4 separate regions of the Homo sapiens genome follow, and regions 1, 2 and 4 are each linked to region 3. Evidence: promoter capture Hi-C in 16 types of primary human blood cells and fetal thymus (Javierre and others, 2016). All regions are on one chromosome and are shown on one strand. Each heading gives the region's core, a stretch centred on a gene start or on the middle of the fragment in contact. The rest is flanking DNA. Distances are from core to core; before and after follow the strand shown. Region 1 has its middle 52 kb from the start of OR1J1. Region 2 holds the start of OR1J4 (olfactory receptor family 1 subfamily J member 4). Region 3 holds the start of OR1K1 (olfactory receptor family 1 subfamily K member 1). Region 4 overlaps PTGS1 (prostaglandin-endoperoxide synthase 1).

The links. Contacts are between HindIII fragments. The CHiCAGO score rates a contact against its expected background, and 5 or more counts as called.
Region 1: a fragment that was not itself captured here is called in contact with the fragment with the promoter of OR1K1 in region 3 in 11 of 17 cell types (total CD8 T cells, M2 macrophages, naive B cells and 8 more); the score reaches 8.0 in total CD8 T cells.
Region 2: the fragment with the promoter of OR1J4 here is called in contact with the fragment with the promoter of OR1K1 in region 3 in 5 of 17 cell types (M1 macrophages, M0 macrophages, endothelial precursors and 2 more); the score reaches 8.8 in M1 macrophages.
Region 4: a contact is called between a fragment that was not itself captured here and the fragment with the promoter of OR1K1 in region 3, in 2 of 17 cell types (naive CD8 T cells and naive CD4 T cells). The highest score is 5.4, in naive CD8 T cells.

The regions. Positions count from the first base shown.
Region 1 is chr9:122,423,630-122,428,259 of GRCh38, forward strand. No RefSeq gene overlaps it. Among named protein-coding and RNA genes, the nearest start is that of OR1J1, 52 kb to the right of the region's middle. The HindIII fragment of the contact is 849 bases long and covers 2,291-3,139 here.
Region 2 is chr9:122,517,506-122,522,063 of GRCh38, forward strand. It overlaps OR1J4 (olfactory receptor family 1 subfamily J member 4), which reads left to right and starts at 1,636. Exons shown (of 1, transcript NM_001004452.1): 1 at 1,636-2,577. The coding sequence starts at 1,636. The coding sequence ends at 2,577. It also overlaps a transcript of OR1J2 not described here. The HindIII fragment of the contact is 966 bases long and covers 1,377-2,342 here.
Region 3 is chr9:122,798,146-122,802,732 of GRCh38, forward strand. OR1K1 (olfactory receptor family 1 subfamily K member 1) reads left to right here and starts at 1,978. Exons shown (of 1, transcript NM_080859.1): 1 at 1,978-2,928. The coding sequence starts at 1,978. The coding sequence ends at 2,928. The HindIII fragment of the contact is 11,918 bases long and covers 1-4,587 here.
Region 4 is chr9:122,395,162-122,400,040 of GRCh38, forward strand. It overlaps PTGS1 (prostaglandin-endoperoxide synthase 1), which reads left to right. Exons shown (of 11, transcript NM_000962.4): 11 at 1-542. Among named protein-coding and RNA genes, the nearest start is that of PTGS1, 27 kb to the left of the region's middle. The HindIII fragment of the contact is 2,269 bases long and covers 117-2,385 here.

The sequences.
Region 1 (4,630 bases), core at 1,465-3,964, 370 kb before region 3:
GATGCTCAGAGAAAGCTATAGGGAAGTTAGGCCTTGAAGGATAGCCAACTAGGCATTGACTGAGTGAAGAGAAGGAATGATATTGCAATAACCTACAAAAACATAGAGGTGTGAAGAAGTGTTAAGTGGTCTGGGAATGCAGCATGGTTCAGGATTTGGTATAGGGCAGAGATGGAGAATATATAGCTTTCACACTACAATCTCCCCATTCCACATTCATGGCAGACATTGTTAATCTATCACAGAGCATTATTTCTCATGGGGATTGATTTGAACCTTTGAATCATTCTCAACTTAGCACTCCAGGCAGCTACTCTTAGTTAAATAGTGGCAGGGTAAGAGATGAAACCTATTTGTTATTTCTGGGAATAGAGAGAATGATAGATCATGAAGAGAAATGAGGCTAGGGAGTTAGGCAGGGTCCAGCTGGGAAGATGCTTTTGATAATGGTATTGGTTGGTGATCAGAACCTCTTGAGGAAGCTAGGAGGCTTTGAGTGTAAAATATCAGAAAAGTTTCAGTGCGCATGTAGCTGCCTCTGTGGGGTGTGCTCCATTCTTGTTAACGAGGCCCCAGAGAAACTTCATTTGAGAATCTCCTGGCTCATCTGCTTCAATAGTAATTAGCCATGCAGAGAAGATCTCTGTGGTTTAATTAAGTGGCATATGTGGTTAAAAGTTTGTCTTCTTCTAAGGGAGCAGTAATTAAAAATTAAGCGTAGTCTCTCCATGGATCAGTATCTTCATTGGAAACACGGCCTTTGGCTGTCACCAATTCAGAATACTGGAGAAACAGGCACTTCTCTCTCAGGCTCGTCTGCCCCCCTTCCAAGTCCAAAAAGTAGGACCTACCTGGGTCTGATTGGGAATGACACCTAGAATTGAGGGACCAAGTTGGGGGAGATGGGTCTTGCATGGCCATAGTCAACCTCAGTGATATCCTCTGTGTTGAAGGAGGCATAACATTATAGAATGAGATTGGTGAGAGCACTGAGGTAGTAGTGCACCTGATGTATTTAAGGAATAACAGACCAGTATGGCTGGACTGGGCTGAATGAATAAAGAGGGGCAGGAGCTGAGGTCAGAATGGCCACAGGACCAGTTCACATAGTCTTGTAGTCAGATTATTGCAAAGATTTTGGCTTTAATGTGAGCCAACTTTATCAATATTTTGTTTTTGCTACATTTTGATCTTATTTAGAAAATCTTTCCATAGCCTAAGTTCTAAAATATAACTTTTATTTTCTACAAAGTGTTTTTTCTAAAATTAAGTTTTCTAAAGCATAATTTATGAACAATAGCATTTATTCATAGGAAGTATTCCATTTGATGAGTTTTGACAACAGTATGCCGTTATGTAACAACTACAATGAAGATACACAATATTCTTATTGCCACAAAAGTTCTCTCCTACCCATTGGTAGTCACTATCCTTCTGCCACTCCTAGCCCCAGGCAAACGGTGATCTGATTTCCTGCTTCCTTTTCCTGAATGTCATACAATTAGAATGATATAAGATGTAGCCTTTTTTTGGTCCAGCTTCTTTGATTTTGCATACTTTTTTTGAGATTCTTCCAAGTTGTTGCACATATAAGTAATTCGTTCATTTTTATTGCTGCATATGGATGTACCACAATTTGGTTATCCATTCATCATTGGTGGACTGTCTCCACTGTTTGGCTACTGTGAATAAAGCTGCTCTAAACATTGGCATACAGTTCTTTGTGTGAACATATGGTTCCTTGTCTTTTGGGTAAATACCTAGGGATAGGATTGCTGGGTTGTATGGTAGGTATGTGTTAAACTTTTAAAGAAACTGCTAAACTGTTTTCAAAAAGGGCTGCTCCATTTTGCAATGGATACAATTTCCAGGTGCTTCTCTCACCAGAGCTTGGTATTAGCCATTTTAGTGATGTGTAGTGGTATTTCATTGTGGTTTTGATTTGCATTTCCCTAATGACCAGTGGTGTCAAGCATCTTTTCATGTGCTTATTTGCCATCTGTATATCTTCTTTGATTAAGTGTCTGTTCAGATCCTTTGCCCACTATTTGAGCTATTTGTCTTATAATTGATTGTGAGAGTTCTTTTTTCTAGATAAAGTCTTTATTAGGTATGTGTTTTGCAAACATTTTCTCCCAGCCTGTGGCTTGTCTTTACATTCTCTTAACAGTATCTTTCAAACAGCAGAAGTTTAAAATTTTGATGATGCTGAATTTAGCAGTTTTTTTCTATTATGGTTTTTGCTTTTTGTTTCTTATGTGAAAATTATTTGCCTAATCCAAGGTTACAAAGCTTTTCTTTTGTTTTCTTCTATAAGTTTTACAGTTTTAGCTCTTACATTTAAGTCCATGATCCATTTTGAATTAATTTATATATATGGTGTGAGTTAAGGATTGATTTTTTTATATGGATATCCAATTGTTCCAGCATCAGTTGTTGAAAAACTGTCCTTTCTCTATTGCATTGGAATTTTTGTCAAAAATCAATTGACCATATAACTGTAGATCTATTTCTGAACTCTTGTTTGATTGAGCTTTAAAACCAAAAGTACACTGTCTTGATTATTATAGCTTAGTAAGTCTTGAATTGCATGGTGTGGGTCTTCTTTCCTCCCCCAAAGTTATTTAGGTTCTTCTAGGTTTTTTGCCATTTCCATATAAATTTTATTTTAAAATTTTCAACTTACAAAAGAGCCCAATAGAATTTTGATTGAGATTTCATTGAACCAGTAGGTCAGGAATTGCCAAAAAAACACTTTCACAGAAACACATAGAATAATGTTTGACCAAACACCTTGTTACCATGGCTCAGCCAATTTGATACATCAAATCAACTATATAGTCTCTCTCCTGATGAATATCACCGTCTTTACCTTCAGTCTCTATTAATGGACTACATTTTTACCAATATTCATAACAAAAAATTAGAATTTTACAGTTTATCTGTAATTAGAAATATGTCTTCATACTTATAAAAGAAAGAATGTTTATGGTCAGGGCATGAGATCCTTTATGAAGATGCAGATTTAAAAAAATCTATACTTTTGCTATCCAGAGGTAACCACTGTTTCTACATTTTGGTAGATTTCCTCAAATTTATTTATATTTATGCCAAGTCTTATTCCTGAAGAATTTAAGGAAGCTTGGAAATACGTATAAAATACAAGATAAGATAAATGGAAAATGAGGTTAGAAAAAGAACAAAAGGGGGGATAAACAAGGGTGGAGACATAAAATTGAGCCAGGAATGACTCTGAAAATGCAGATTATGATGACTGTTGTTATGGGTGGGCCTCAGATTTGGCTCAGGCTTTCTGGTCAGTCACACAGTTCACTGGGACCAAAAGTAAAAATAAACCACTTGATTAGGTGAAATTATATCATCTGCGGTTCTAAGAACAGACACATTGCATGGGGTTTCTTTTAATCCGTCTTAATGTAGGCTTTGGCAATCAAATTGGGGTGTAAAAATTCACAGTAAACAATAGCTCAGAGGCAAAAAGAATGCTGTCTAGGTGCTCAGATTTCCAGTGGTTTGGGTGGACAACATATTGGATTTTAGTCTTGCAGGTAGGTATGGATGACCTGCATGTCCTTTGAGCAAGCTTCCCTAAATATATTTTCTTTTAGTTAAACTTTTGGTAAACACTGAGTATCAGTGACCACCAACTAATAGTCCCTCGTTGATACCTAAGCTGCGGCTGGTGTCTATTATCAATCAAGTAGAGGTGAATCCTATTTAGAGTTGGCAATCAAACAACACACTAGTATTTAGTGCAGGGCTTTCAGTCAGACAGATGTTTCAGATTCTAACTCCATAACTCAACTAACTGTGCAGTAATAAACAAGTTAAAAATTTCACCAAGTCTCCAGGTTCTCATCTATAAAATGTGAATAACATCAGTATCTGTCTTGTAGGGTTGTCGTTGGGATTAAATATGTTTACACAAGTAAAGTATGTAACACAATAACAAGAGTATAGTAAGTGTTCAATAAATGATATTATTATTATCTTTATAAAGCTGAGGAGACTAATGAGGACTTGTGCCTAGAAATAAGGCCATCAGACATCTGCTTCCAGGTGAGCTGAGACAGCACCCACCGAACGTGTTCCAGGACCCAAATAAAATCTTAACCTTAAACTACGTAACTTTTGAATGAACTCCCAGATTCCAGTGTATTCTACACCAAGGCATCTCAAGTGTTAGTCTGTGGATCAGTGTTTGTCCATAATGAAGTTTTCATGCATGAACTGAAAAAAAAAAAAAAAAACAACCCTGCAGAATTGGCTCTGTTCCCAGTACTCTTCTCTATCTTTAGGTTAATTTATATTTCTTGTAGAAAGCATTTAGTTGGAACTTTTTAAAACCATGGTGATAATCTTTGTTTTTTAAGCCTCTGGGAAGGAGGTAGTTAGAATATCTGCGTTTGATGTAATTGGTGATAGTTTTGAGTTTAAACCTACTTTTTAATTTTGGCCTTTCTTTTCTTTTCTTTTTTTCTTTCTTTCTTTCTTTTTTTCTTTCTTTCTTTCTTCTTTCTTTCTTCTTTATTCCTTCCTTCCTTCCCCCTTCCTTCCTTCCTTCCTTCCTTCCTTCTCTCTCTCTCTCTCTCTCTTTCTTTCCTTTCTT
Region 2 (4,558 bases), core at 386-2,885, 280 kb before region 3:
CTCTTCTGAATTTTTCTCCCAATTAAGAACTGTTATAATGAAATCCTCACATTTTCTATTTACTTAGTATACGTTGGTATATATATTAGGCATTTGGCATTGCTTTTTGACTTAAAGGGAACTTTTCAATTAAGACACAGTGGCACTATAAACTCATTCCTACTGGCCTTGCAGGATTTGGTAACTTAGGTTTAGAATATCTTTTTGAGGTGTTTTTTTTTTCTTATGTTCCAGGGTACATGTGCAGGATGTGCAGGTTCGTTACACAGGTAAACGTGTGCCATGGTGGTTTGCTGCACCTATCAACCCCATCACCTAGGTATTAAGCCTGGCATTCGTTAGCTCTTTTTCCTGATGCTCTCACCCCCTCAAGCTCCCTAGACAGGTCCCAGTGTGTATTGTTCTCCTCCCTGTGTTCTCATTGTTCAGCTCTCACTTATAAGTGAGAACATGTGTTGTTTGGTTTTCTGTTCCTGCATTAGTTTGCTGAGGATAATGGCTTCCAGCTCCATCCATGTCCCTGCATAGGACATGGTCTCATTCCTTTTTATGTATGTTCATTGCAGCACTATTCCCAATAGCAAAGACATGGAATCAACTCAAATGTCCATCAATGATAGACTGGATAAAGAAAATGTGGCACATATATGCCATGGCTTTAGAATATTTTAATGGGTAGATAGTGGCTGTGGAGGAAGCTGGCATATTTTTCTCATTCCTGATTTTAATGGAAATGCTTTAAAATGTCTCCACTAGGTATGGTGTTTACTGTATTATTTAGTTTACTGAGTGTCTTAGTCGGTTGGGCTGCTATAGCTGGGTGACTTTAAACAGCAGACATTTATTTGTTACAGTTCTGGAGCCTGGGAAGCCCCAGATCAAGGTACCAGCAGATTTGGTTTCTGGTGCGGGTCCACTTTCTGGTTAGCAGATGGCTGCCTTCCTGCTGAGTCCTCACATGGCAATGCCAGAGACACTCTTGTGTTTCTTCTTATAAGGGCAATAATCCCATTCATGGGGTTCTACCCTCATGACCTAATTACCTCCTGAAGCTCTCACCTTTAAATATTTTGTGTAAGATTTACTTTTTTTATGGCAGTGATATTGTAATCAATAGACAAGTTTTTTTTCTCATCAACTTTATACATAATGAAAACTTTGGCTGTTTATCTTTGATCCAATTTCTTTTGGATATGTGTTATGGAAACTTCATCCCTATATGTTGCTTACTAATAGATTTTGAAGTCAAATTTTAAAAAGTTCAATATGTTACAACATGAAGGCTCATGACTAGCCTGATGATTGTTTTTAAAAGTACATAAACAATGGAAATTGGAAAGACGTTATCTTACGATCCATCTGCTAATACGGTGTGAAGCTTTCTCTTTACTGACTAGACATGGCTGGTCTTCTCTTCTATTTCAAACCCTCTACTCTCTTGGCGAATTATCCCATTTTGAGTGATAAAACCATCTACTTGAAATGATTTTTTGTAGGGACATAGCAATGTAGACAGACATTGGCATATTCATCAGTAGCAAGGATCTTATTCTTATCTGCTGCTGTAAATCAACATTTGTTTGTTTCTGCCTTTTTCAATGTCCCTCTATTTCCAGCAGAGAGAAGACTGTCAGCATGAAGAGGGAGAATCAGAGCAGTGTGTCTGAGTTCCTCCTCCTGGACCTCCCCATCTGGCCAGAGCAGCAGGCTGTGTTCTTCACCCTGTTCTTGGGCATGTACCTGATCACGGTGCTGGGGAACCTGCTCATCATCCTGCTCATCCGGCTGGACTCTCACCTTCACACCCCCATGTTCTTCTTCCTCAGCCACTTGGCTCTCACTGACATCTCCCTTTCATCTGTCACTGTCCCAAAGATGTTATTAAGCATGCAAACTCAGGATCAATCCATTCTTTATGCAGGGTGTGTAACTCAGATGTATTTTTTCATATTTTTCACTGATCTAGACAATTTCCTTCTCACTTCAATGGCATACGATCGGTATGTGGCCATCTGTCACCCCCTCCGCTACACCACTATCATGAAAGAGGGACTGTGTAACTTACTAGTCACTGTGTCCTGGATCCTCTCCTGTACCAATGCCCTGTCTCACACTCTCCTCCTGGCCCAGCTGTCCTTTTGTGCTGACAACACCATCCCCCATTTCTTCTGTGATCTTGTTGCCCTACTCAAGCTCTCATGCTCAGACATCTCCCTCAATGAGCTGGTCATTTTCACAGTGGGACAGGCAGTCATTACTCTACCACTAATATGCATCTTGATCTCTTATGGCCACATTGGGGTCACCATCCTCAAGGCTCCATCTACTAAGGGCATCTTCAAAGCTTTGTCCACCTGTGGCTCTCACCTCTCTGTGGTGTCTCTGTATTATGGCACAATTATTGGACTGTATTTTCTCCCCTCATCCAGTGCCTCCAGTGACAAGGACGTAATTGCCTCTGTGATGTACACGGTGATCACCCCATTGCTGAATCCCTTCATTTATAGCCTAAGGAACAGGGACATAAAGGGAGCCCTGGAGAGACTCTTCAACAGGGCAACAGTCTTATCTCAATGACATTTACTCTTCTTTATAACAGACATATGTACTGACCTATTTCCAGATCATAGATCCTTACTTCTGATCCCAGCAAGGGATAAGTGCTCAGTAACTCTCTGATGACTTGAATTGCATCCTGTTACAGTTATTCTCCCTTTTCCTCTTTAGTGCAAATTGTGAATTCTGAGTTTACATAATTGTTTATTTATCTTGCCTATTAGATTCAGAAATTACATAGTTAACAGAACTTAAATCCTTCATTTTATTTCCTGGAAATTTATTTGTTCTTAGGAATTGTTTAAATATGTTGACTAACAGGATTCCCTTGCCATAGAAAAGTTGAAGGATTGGGTACTTGTAAAGGCATTTCCCTTTCTTTCTTCCCATTCAGTTCTCTTCTCACATTTTTTATTGTTGTTGCTGATGGTGGTGGGTAAGGAGAAGAAACTATATAGTACCCTTTACAGATCCAAAAAGCTATTCACTGTCATAAGTTCAGCTGTTCCACTTCAGAACTTGAGGTTCCTCTTCTAGACTACAATAACTTTCATTCAACAGTTCACTTTCAGACCAATGTTTATGAAGCTTTCTGACTACACATGTGAGCTTCAATCACGCCGCAGACTTACTCCAGGTAATGAATGAGAAGAACAAAAAAGTCTTCACAGTCAGGAGCCTTCTGTTGCCGTCACTAAATTTGATCCTTTTCCCATTCAGTGTCTTCGTTGTCTTTCTTATTGAAAAGCATTTCTACTCAGCTTAATGGCCCCTAGTTTGTATTATATGCCCAAGTCATCTTTTATCTTTTTCTTCTATCTTCTATGGTCTCCGCCATCCAGTGAAGGGCATATAGGTCTCTTTTTTCATTCCTCTACTTAAAGATAAACAGAACTACAAATGCTTCTGAGAAGCAGCAATGTGTAGCTGCAAGAGAAGAATATTTGGAAAGCTAGATCTCATTTGTAATCTCTATATACCAGGGTGGTGGCTGCGTGGCCTCAGACAATTCACCCAATTCCTTTGAACCTCAATTTCTTCTTCTGTATAGGTGAAAAAAGTTCTGCAACACCTAACATATTTTATTTGAAGTAAATGCAGTAATAAATTGGGCTTAACACTACAGCTGACCAAGAATAATGAATGTGAATTTTCTCTACCTTCTCCATCAGAGATGAGTTTTGAAGCAGAACTTGTGCAGACACTCCTGAATTATGGTGACCATGGGCAGCTTGTCATGTTGGTTATATTCCCAATTCAAAAGCAATAACCTGCCCTAGGACACAGCAACATATCTGTTCTGGCTTGAGCTAGAACCAAATAACTAAAGGGCAATGAACAAGTGAGTTCATGTGTGGGTAGGTAAGGAAAGACAGATCAGAAAAAGACCTTACTCTTCACTTGTTTGATATTGACTCAAAGAGTGATCCTTCATCGGGGGCTCATGTAGCTGCCTTTTGGCATCCAGTCCTTTGTAGAACAAGAAAGAGTGCCACCCCCACTCCTTGCTGCAAGCACAGGGTCACTTTGTTTACAGGCTTAGCCCCGACCTTTTCCAGAGCCAAAACCTGAACAGGGATAGAATCTTTATTGTTGGTTTATTGTTGGTCTAGGTAAAGCATGCCTTGATAGCCTCAGCACAATCATGACCTGCTGTACACTCTCATCTCTGCTATAGTGATGTGATCTGTAGAACTAAGTGCCTGACTCAGTTTCCCTGCCGGCACCCCAGTTCTGTTGTTCAGATCCCTGAAGATCTGCCTAGTCTTGTCAGGCCCATCCTCCAGAGAGACCAATATTGTCATTTATGTTTTAGCCACAGGCTGGTGACACTTCTCTGAATGACTTTTCCTCAAGAAATGGCAAGCTCACTTGTCTGTTGGGAAGTGTTTCATCACTATCTGTCTTACCAGTCCACCTCATCTCCCAGATCAGTTTGTCTTGGTTTTGGACAGCCCAAAGCACACTGGGGTGCACCGTATTGATTTGAATATGCAAATAG
Region 3 (4,587 bases), core at 728-3,227:
TTGTATATTTGAACGCTTCTTGGGACCAATTTAGACACAGGTCAGAGCAGGTCCATTTTCCAAAAGCAATTCTATAAACAGGTTTCCCCTTCCATCCTACCCAATCATCCTGATCCTCTTCCCCTCCAGGAAAGTGAGAAAGAATTAGGGGCTTAAGAAAAGATGCTTTAGAGGAAGCTAACGCCAGAGATTCTTCTTAACCAATGGAGGAAAAAAGGAATACGATAGGGTAGGGAGGTCCTTCATTGATTTTTTTTTAATAGAGAAAGATGTGGAAATAAATTAAAAGATCATTTCCCTGTAAAGGTGGTTTCAGCACAGTCTTCAGCAAACCTGTGCCCTAAAATTCCTCTCAGTTACTTCAATTCTCTTCTTACAGAATTGCCCAAGATTTCTGCAATGAAATTCAGACAGGAAAAAAACTGAGACATTGAAAACAAGTTGCCTCTCTCCTTAAGAGTCAAGTCGCTATGCCTGGGCAGATGTGTCCATCTGTCCACAGGAGTTTCTCACCCTGTGATGTGCATCTGCTTGGTGCTCAGTAAGTGTTTGATTTCATGGGGAAAGTTTTCAGGGATATGAGGAGTCATTCAGATTCTCTTGTTCTTTTTTTGTGTGTGTGTGAGATGGAGTCTCACTGTGCCACCCAGGCTGGAGTGCAGTGGCACGATCTTGGCTCACTGCAACCTCTGCCTCCTGGGTTCAAGATATTCTCCTGCCCCAGCCTCCCAAGTAGCTGGGATTACAGGCACGTGACACCACACCTGGCTAATTTTTGTATTTTTTTTTTTAGTAGAGATGGGGTTTCACCACATTGGCCAGGCTGGTCTCAAACTCCTGACCTCAGGTGATCCTCCTACCTTGGCCTCCCAAAGTGCTGGGATTACAGGCACGAGCCACTGCACCCGGCCTTGTTTTGTGTTTTAAGTCTGAAAATATCTGTATTCTTTACTCACACTTGAGTAGTATTTTTGCTGAGTGAAGAATTCCAAGTTCGAAATGCTTTTTTTCAGAATTTGAATATTGTTAAACTGTTCTATAATCTACTGTTGAATTGAAACATTTGATGGCAATCTAATTACATGGATATCATCAGTTCATTGCACCCCATGCCCTTAGGAAGTACTGGAGTCTCCTCTTCATTTCCAGTGTTCTAAAATTCCACTATTTGTGTCTAGGTGTTGTGAGTTCATATTCATTTCAATGTAAACATATGTGCTCTTCAGATTTTTTTTCTAGAGTTTCTTTCTTATGTTTCTCTCCTCCATCTTGGTTTGGTTTCATTTTTTCTTTTCCAAAATAAATGTCCATTGGCCAGATCTTTCTGTGTCGAACCTCACTCTGTTTCATCTTTTCTTTCATATTTTCCTCCTTCCCTGATCTACATCTTGTGCAATATCTTTTGTTCTATTTTTGCTTAAATCACAAACTATCAAAGTTGGACGTGACCTTGCAGATGAGTTACTTCAATTCTCTTATTTCGCAGGTTGAAAGTCTAAGGCCCCACAAGGTCAGGAGATCGAGAACATCCTGGCTAACACGGTGAAACCCCGTCTCTACTAAAAAATACAAAAAAAATTAGCCGGGCGTGATGGCGGGCGCCTGTAGTCCCAGCTACTCGGGAGGCTGAGGCAGGAGAATGGCGTGAACCCAGGAGGTGGAGCTTGCAGTGAGCTGAGATCGTGCCACTGCACTCCAGCCTGGGCGACAGAGCAAGACTCCATCTCAAAAAAAAAAAAAAAAAAAGAAAAGAAAATCTAAGGCCCAGAAAGGAAGAAGGTTCAGGGAGGTGAAATGACTTGCCCATAGTCATACCTGTGCCTAGGGCCAGGGCTACCTGACTCTAAACTCTTGATATTTTCCCATGGCCAGGAAGCCTTGAACAATTTATCCCCTCACCTTTTCCGTTAGACATCGGGGAGGTGACCCATCAATAGAAAGGAGCCCTTCAGGTTCCAGGCGAATAACCAGCCTGCCATGGAGGCTGCCAATGAGTCTTCAGAGGGAATCTCATTCGTTTTATTGGGACTGACAACAAGTCCTGGACAGCAGCGGCCTCTCTTTGTGCTGTTCTTGCTCTTGTATGTGGCCAGCCTCCTGGGTAATGGACTCATTGTGGCTGCCATCCAGGCCAGTCCAGCCCTTCATGCACCCATGTACTTCCTGCTGGCCCACCTGTCCTTTGCTGACCTCTGCTTCGCCTCCGTCACTGTGCCCAAGATGTTGGCCAACTTGTTGGCCCATGACCACTCCATCTCGCTGGCTGGCTGCCTGACCCAAATGTACTTCTTCTTTGCCCTGGGGGTAACTGATAGCTGTCTTCTGGCGGCCATGGCCTATGACTGCTACGTGGCCATCCGGCACCCCCTCCCCTATGCCACGAGGATGTCCCGGGCCATGTGCGCAGCCCTGGTGGGAATGGCATGGCTGGTGTCCCACGTCCACTCCCTCCTGTATATCCTGCTCATGGCTCGCTTGTCCTTCTGTGCTTCCCACCAAGTGCCCCACTTCTTCTGTGACCACCAGCCTCTCTTAAGGCTCTCGTGCTCTGACACCCACCACATCCAGCTGCTCATCTTCACCGAGGGCGCCGCAGTGGTGGTCACTCCCTTCCTGCTCATCCTCGCCTCCTATGGGGCCATCGCAGCTGCCGTGCTCCAGCTGCCCTCAGCCTCTGGGAGGCTCCGGGCTGTGTCCACCTGTGGCTCCCACCTGGCTGTGGTGAGCCTCTTCTATGGGACAGTCATTGCAGTCTACTTCCAGGCCACATCCCGACGCGAGGCAGAGTGGGGCCGTGTGGCCACTGTCATGTACACTGTAGTCACCCCCATGCTGAACCCCATCATCTACAGCCTCTGGAATCGCGATGTACAGGGGGCACTCCGAGCCCTTCTCATTGGGCGAAGGATCTCAGCTAGTGACTCCTGAGGGCAGGACCCCACTGAGGACAGACTGCATCACCCACACTGGCAACTGTTGAACGTGACCCTCTGTCCTCTGCTATGCTCAAAAATCATAACAGCTGTCATTTCCTGAGCACCTGCCCGGAAGCAGATCCTTGCCTGATCTCATTTTATTCCCACAGCCACCCAGGATGCAGATATTATGATCCGGTTTTACACACAAGAAAATTTGTCTTTAGGCTCAAAGATAAGAAGTGACTTTCCAGCCAGGCACAGCGGCTCACGCCTGTAATCCCAGCACTTTGAGAAGCCGAGGTGGTGGATCACCTGAGGTCGAGAGTTCAAGATCAGCCTGGCCAACATGGCGAAACCCTGTCTCTATTACAAATACCAAAATTAGCCAAGCATGGCGGCGCACAACTGTAATCCCATCTACTCGGGAGACTGAGGCAAGAGAATCACTTGAACCCAAAAGATGAAGATTGAAGTGAGCTAAGATTGTGCCACTGAGCTCCAGCCTGGGCAACAGAGCAAGACTCCATCTCAAAAAAAAAAGAAGTGACTTTCTCAAATTCACACAGTTCTTAGAAAGCAAAACCTGCACCCCTTCTGCCACATCATGCTCTTCTGATGATCACTCTTAGGCATTTAGAATGCATTCCACCATTTCCTACAGACCGAGGGCAATCCAGGAGGGTGTGACATCCGCAGAACATGCCTTGTGTGGATGAGCACTTTCTCTTCAGTCATATGGCCATGTGTTCTCAAATAAATTGACTTCTCAACTGGGACTGGAATAGAGAAATTCACACACTCATGTGTGAAGGGCCAGCCCCTCCTAATGAGCTCAGTGTGGCACACAGGAGGCCCTCTGCACATCTAATATGAATAAATGACTCTGTGTTCATACTAACATGCATTTAGAAGAAGTCCGTTCTTCTAATTCTTTGTTCTTTCCCTTGTTTGCTATCATGGCACCTGTTCTGCCCCACCTGGCATTCTGTAGAAGGAGCACGTTGTGGACACGCACAGTCATGAATAAACAAAGCAAAGCTGAGAAGGAGGAGGCATAGGTGTTAGGGGCAGATGGAGCAAGCATTGGATAAGTCTTTATCGTATGCCAGCACTTCACTTATTTTTACCCACAAAAAGTATGGGTACTCTTATTGCCACTTTATGAATGAGGAAACTGAGGCTCAAAGCTGGTAACCTAGTCAGTGTCAGAGCCAGAACAAGCCCTTATGCCACATGGGTCATGCAGGTGTGTTTTAATGGGCCCCATAGAATCCACACGCCAGGTTTTGGTGTCTCAGTGGAAGCACTTGCAGGAAGAAGTCTCAGACCAGGGCAGGTTCGCTGCCTCAAGTAAGGACACATTTTGGGGTCTGAAAAGGCCTCATGGTGCCCAAGTTTTTACCAAACAGGTATGTGAGGCAGGAGCTTTTAGGTCTCTGTTTCTCTAAGAAATCTGCACCCACTTCCCCATCCCCTAGTCCCAACTCCACTCCTACCCCCATTCCGCTGCTCCAGAGAGAAGGAGAGAGAGCTACAGCGATCCTAGAGCCAGGTTAGCAATAGCCCCTTCCAGATCACACAGGTGAGCTGCCACCGCCCAGTCCCAGAGCTGCTACACTATGCTGTTTAGATCAAAAAGGACCTTAAAGGTCTTTAGACTGGTAGCTTT
Region 4 (4,879 bases), core at 1-2,500, 400 kb before region 3:
GGTTCCAGAGGTATTCCTCTCTTAAATGCAAGTGCCTAGATTAGGTAGACTTTGCTTAGTATTGACAACTGCACATGAAAGTTTTGCAAAGGGAAACAGGCTAAATGCACCAAGAAAGCTTCTTCAGAGTGAAGAATCTTAATGCTTGTAATTTAAACATTTGTTCCTGGAGTTTTGATTTGGTGGATGTGATGGTTGGTTTTATTTGTCAGTTTGGTTGGGCTATAGCACACAGTTATTTAATCAAACAGTAATCTAGGTGTGGCTGTGAAGGTATTTTGTAGATGTGATTAACATCTACAATCAGTTGACTTTAAGTGAAAGAGATTACTTAAATAATTTGGGTGAGCTGCACCTGATTAGTTGAAAGGCCTCAAGAACAAACACTGCAGTTTCCTGGAAAAGAAGAAACTTTGCCTCAAGACTATAGCCATCGACTCCTGCCTGAGTTTCCAGCCTGCTAGTCTGCCCTATGGATTTGAAGTTTGCCAACCCCAACAATTGTGTGAATTAATTTCTAAAAATAAAGCTATATACAGCCATCCTTTGGTATTTGTGGGGGATTTGTTTCAGGATCTCTACAGATACCAAAATCTGTGGTTCCTCAAGTCCTTTATATGAAGTGGTATAGTATTTGCATATAACCTATGTGCAATCTCCTGTATAACTTCAATCATCTCTAGATTACTTATAATACCTAATACAGTGTAAATGCTAGTTGTTATACTGTATTTTTTCTTTGTATTATTTTTATTGTATTTGAATATTTTGATCTGCATTTGGTTGAATTCACAGATATGGAACCCATGGATATGGAGGATATGTGCACATATATTCAGGACTGAATATATATATTATACATATATATACACACAGAACTGAATATATATATATATATATACACACACACGACTGAATATATATATATATATATATATATATACACACAGGACTGAATATATATATATATATACACAGGACTGAATATATATATATATATACAAGACTGAATATATATATACATATACAAGACTATATATATATATTCAAGACTGACTATATATATATTCAAGGCTGACTATATATATTCAAGACTGACTATATATATATTCAAGACTGACTATATATATATATTCAAGACTGACTCTCTCTCTATATATTCAAGACTGAATATATATATATATATATATTTCTATCTCTCTAATAATACAAGAACAGAAAACCAAATACTGCATGTTCTCACTTATGCGTGGGAGATGAATGATGAGAATACGTGGACATATGGTGGGGAACAACACATGCTGAGGCCTGTCGGAGGGTGGGAGGTGGGCCATCAGGAAGAATAGCTAATGTTAATACCTAGCTGATGGGATGATCTGTGCAGCAAACTACCATGGCACACGTTTACCTGTGTAACAAACCTGCACATCCTACACGTGTAACCAATATATGTATATTATTATTCAAGTTCCAATAATCAAATAATACACAAACCACTGTATTATTTGATTATTGGAAATCAAATAATAATAATAATAATAATAATAATAATAATATACATATATTCTGTTGGTTCTAATTCTCTGGAGAACCCCGACTAATACAATGGGTGATTCATTCAGGACTCTCAATGCAAACAACAGAACATTCTCTAGCCTGTATAAGCAGGAAGGAATTTATTATAGGACATTACATAGCTCATGGAGCCACTGGGAGGACCAGGGAATTAGGCTTGGAGGGTTTGCACCTAGGAATGGTGGCCACTGTCCAGTGGAGATGCCTCTACTACTGCCATGGACACAGCATCTCAAATGACACCTTTGCTGCCCAAACCCCACTACTGCTGCCTTCCAAAACAGGCTGCTTCTACAGCCACTTTTGCTGGAAAATGGAATCTGTGTGATACTTGCTTCCTCTCTTTTCTCTACTTAGAATTAAAATTATCTTTATTTTGTGTCGGATTGGTGGAGCCCAGCTCATGTGTCTGTACTGCAGCTACAAGAAAGAATGGAAAGTGAGTTTTCTGGTTTGTGCCTTGAAAAGGAGGAACCCATGATAAGGAAAATTCCTCATACATAGGGAAGGTGTTCAAAGGGGCTGGGAAACGTGGAAAGTCTGCTTCAGTGAATCTGAATTTTCTTAGTTCTGTTCTGCCTCTGTGGGCCCTATCCCTAGAATGTTACAAAGACCATCACAATGGCCTTACTGTTGACCTGGTAGCAGCTCGATATAGTTGCAAGCAAAGAGCTTAAGAAGTGAAGTTATGTAATTATAGAACAACAGAGAAACAAAGACTGTTGGGTACACACAGTCCACTCTTTTAGTAATTTTTGAGTTAAAAAAAGTGTCAGAAACGCAGGAGGCAGAGCAAGAAGGCAGAATAGAAGCTTCTACCAATTGTCTTCCCCACAGGAACACCAAATTTAACAACTGTCTACACAAAAAATGCACCTTCATTAGAACCAAAATTCAAGTGAATGATTGTAGTACCTGGTTTTAACTTTATATTACTGAAAGAGGCACTGAGGAGGGTAGGAAGGATGGTCTTGAATTGCCAGAGCCATCCCTCCCCGATCCCTGGCAGCAGCCACATGGCACAGAGAATCTGTGTAGGGAGAGTGTAGTGGTTGTAGGACTTTGTGTTAGAACTCAGTGTTGCCTTGTTACACTGGAAAGCAACACCAGGCAGAACTCAGCTAATACCCATGAGGGAGAATTTAGATCAGCCCTAGCCAGAGGGGAAGCATCCATCCCAGTTGCTGAATGGGCTAAAGGGCTCTGGGGTTCTAAATAAACTTGAAAGGCAGTATAGGCCACAAGGATTACAACTCCTAGGAAAGTCTGATCTGCGCTTGGAGCCAGTGGACTTGAGGGGCATGTGACCTGCTGCGATAGCCAAGGGAGTGCTTGTGCCACCCCTCTCCCAACCCTAGGCAGTGCAACTCACAGCTCTCAAAGAGACTCCTTCCTTCAGCTTGAGGAGAGAAGAGTAAAGAGGACTTGTCTTGCCACTTGGATACCAGCTCAGCCACAGTAGTTTAGGGCACCGGGCAGAGTCCTGAGGCACCCATTCCAGGACCTAACTTCCAGATGACATTTCTAGACATATCCTGGGCTTATATGGGCCATATAAGGCAGAAGGGAACCTGTTGCCTTGAATGAAAGGATCTAGTCCTGATAGTATTCACCACCTGCTGACTAAAGTGCCCTTGGGCCCTGAATAATCAGCAGCAGTAGCCAGGTAGTACACACTATGGCCCTTGAGTGAGATTCTGAGATGTGCTGACTTCAGGTGTGACCCAGCACATTCCCAGCTGTGGTGGCTATGGGGAGAGACTCCTTCTACTTGAGAAAAGCAGGGGGAAAAGTAAAGGGGATTTCATCTTGCAGCTTAGGTACTAGCTCGGCCACAGTGGGGCAGAGCACCAAGTGGGCTCTCAGTATCCCTGATTCCAGGCCTTGGCTCTCGCACAGCATTTCTGGACCTGACCTGGGCCAGAGGGGAGACCACTGCCCTGATACGTGAGTCCTAGGTCTGGCAGCATTCACCACAAGCTTCCTGAAGAGCTCTTGGCCTTGTGTGAACATTGGTGGTAGCCAGGCAGTACTCCCCATGGGCCTGTGGTGGTGCTGGCCATGGGGAGAGACTCCTCTGCCTGTGGGAAGGGGAGGGATGAGTGGGAAAGACTTGACTTGTAGCTTTGTCTGCAGCTCAGCTGCAGTAGAATAGAACACAAGGCAGATTCTTAAGATTTTCAACTCCAGGCTCTGGTCCCCAAACAGCATCTACGGACCTGCTTGGGGGAACTCGCTGCCCTGAAGGGAAGGACACAAGCTTGGCTGACTTACTGCCTGCTAACTGCAAAGCCCTAAAGCCTTGAGTAAACAAAGGTGGTGGTAGCCAGGTAGTGGTTATAATGGGCCTTGGGTAAGAAACAGTGCTGTGCTGGCTTCAGGTCTGACCTAGTGCAGTCCCAGTGGTGGTGGCCACAGGGGTGCTTGTGCCACCCCTCCCCCAGTTGTAGGCAGCTCAGCACAGAGACAGAGAGACTCTGTCTGTTTGGGAGAAAGTAAGGGAAGAGAACAAGAATATCTGCCTGGTAATCCAGACAATTCTTCCAGATCTTATCCAAGACCATCAAGTGGTACCTCTACAAGTCTGCAAGAGCCACAGCATTACTGGGCTTGGGGTGCCTCCTAATGCTGATATGACTATGGTGACCAAAAACTTAGATGACAACACCCAAGTCCCTTCGAATACCTGGAAAGCCTTCCCAAGAAGGCTTTCCCAAGAAGCCCAGACTGCAAAGACTACCACAAATATCTAACTTTTCAATGTCCAGACACCAGTGAACATCCACAAGCATCAATACCACTCAAGAAAACATGACCTTACTAAACAAACTAAATAAGTCATCAGGGATTTATCCTAGAGAGATAGAAATATGTGATCTTTCTCTATCTCTCAGAGAGAGGTCATATATCTACACCTCTAGGCTTTTCAGACAGAGAATTTGAAATAGCTATTTTGAGGAAACTCAGTGAAATACAAGATAATACAGAGAAGGAATTCAGAATCCTATCAGATCAATTTAACCAAGATATTGAAATAATTAAAAAGAATCAAGCCGAAATTCTGAAGCTGAAAAATGCAACTGACTACTAAAGAATGCATCAGAGTCTCTTAATAGCAGAATTGATCAAAGAGAAGAAAGAATTAGTAACATTTCTATGTGAAAACAGTGAAAATTCTGAAAATAGTAATCCCATTTACGATAGCTACAAATAAAATTAAGTACCTGGAAATTAATCAAAGAAGTGAAAGATCTTGACAATGGAAAATAAAACACTATGAAAGAAATTGGAGAGGACACACGAA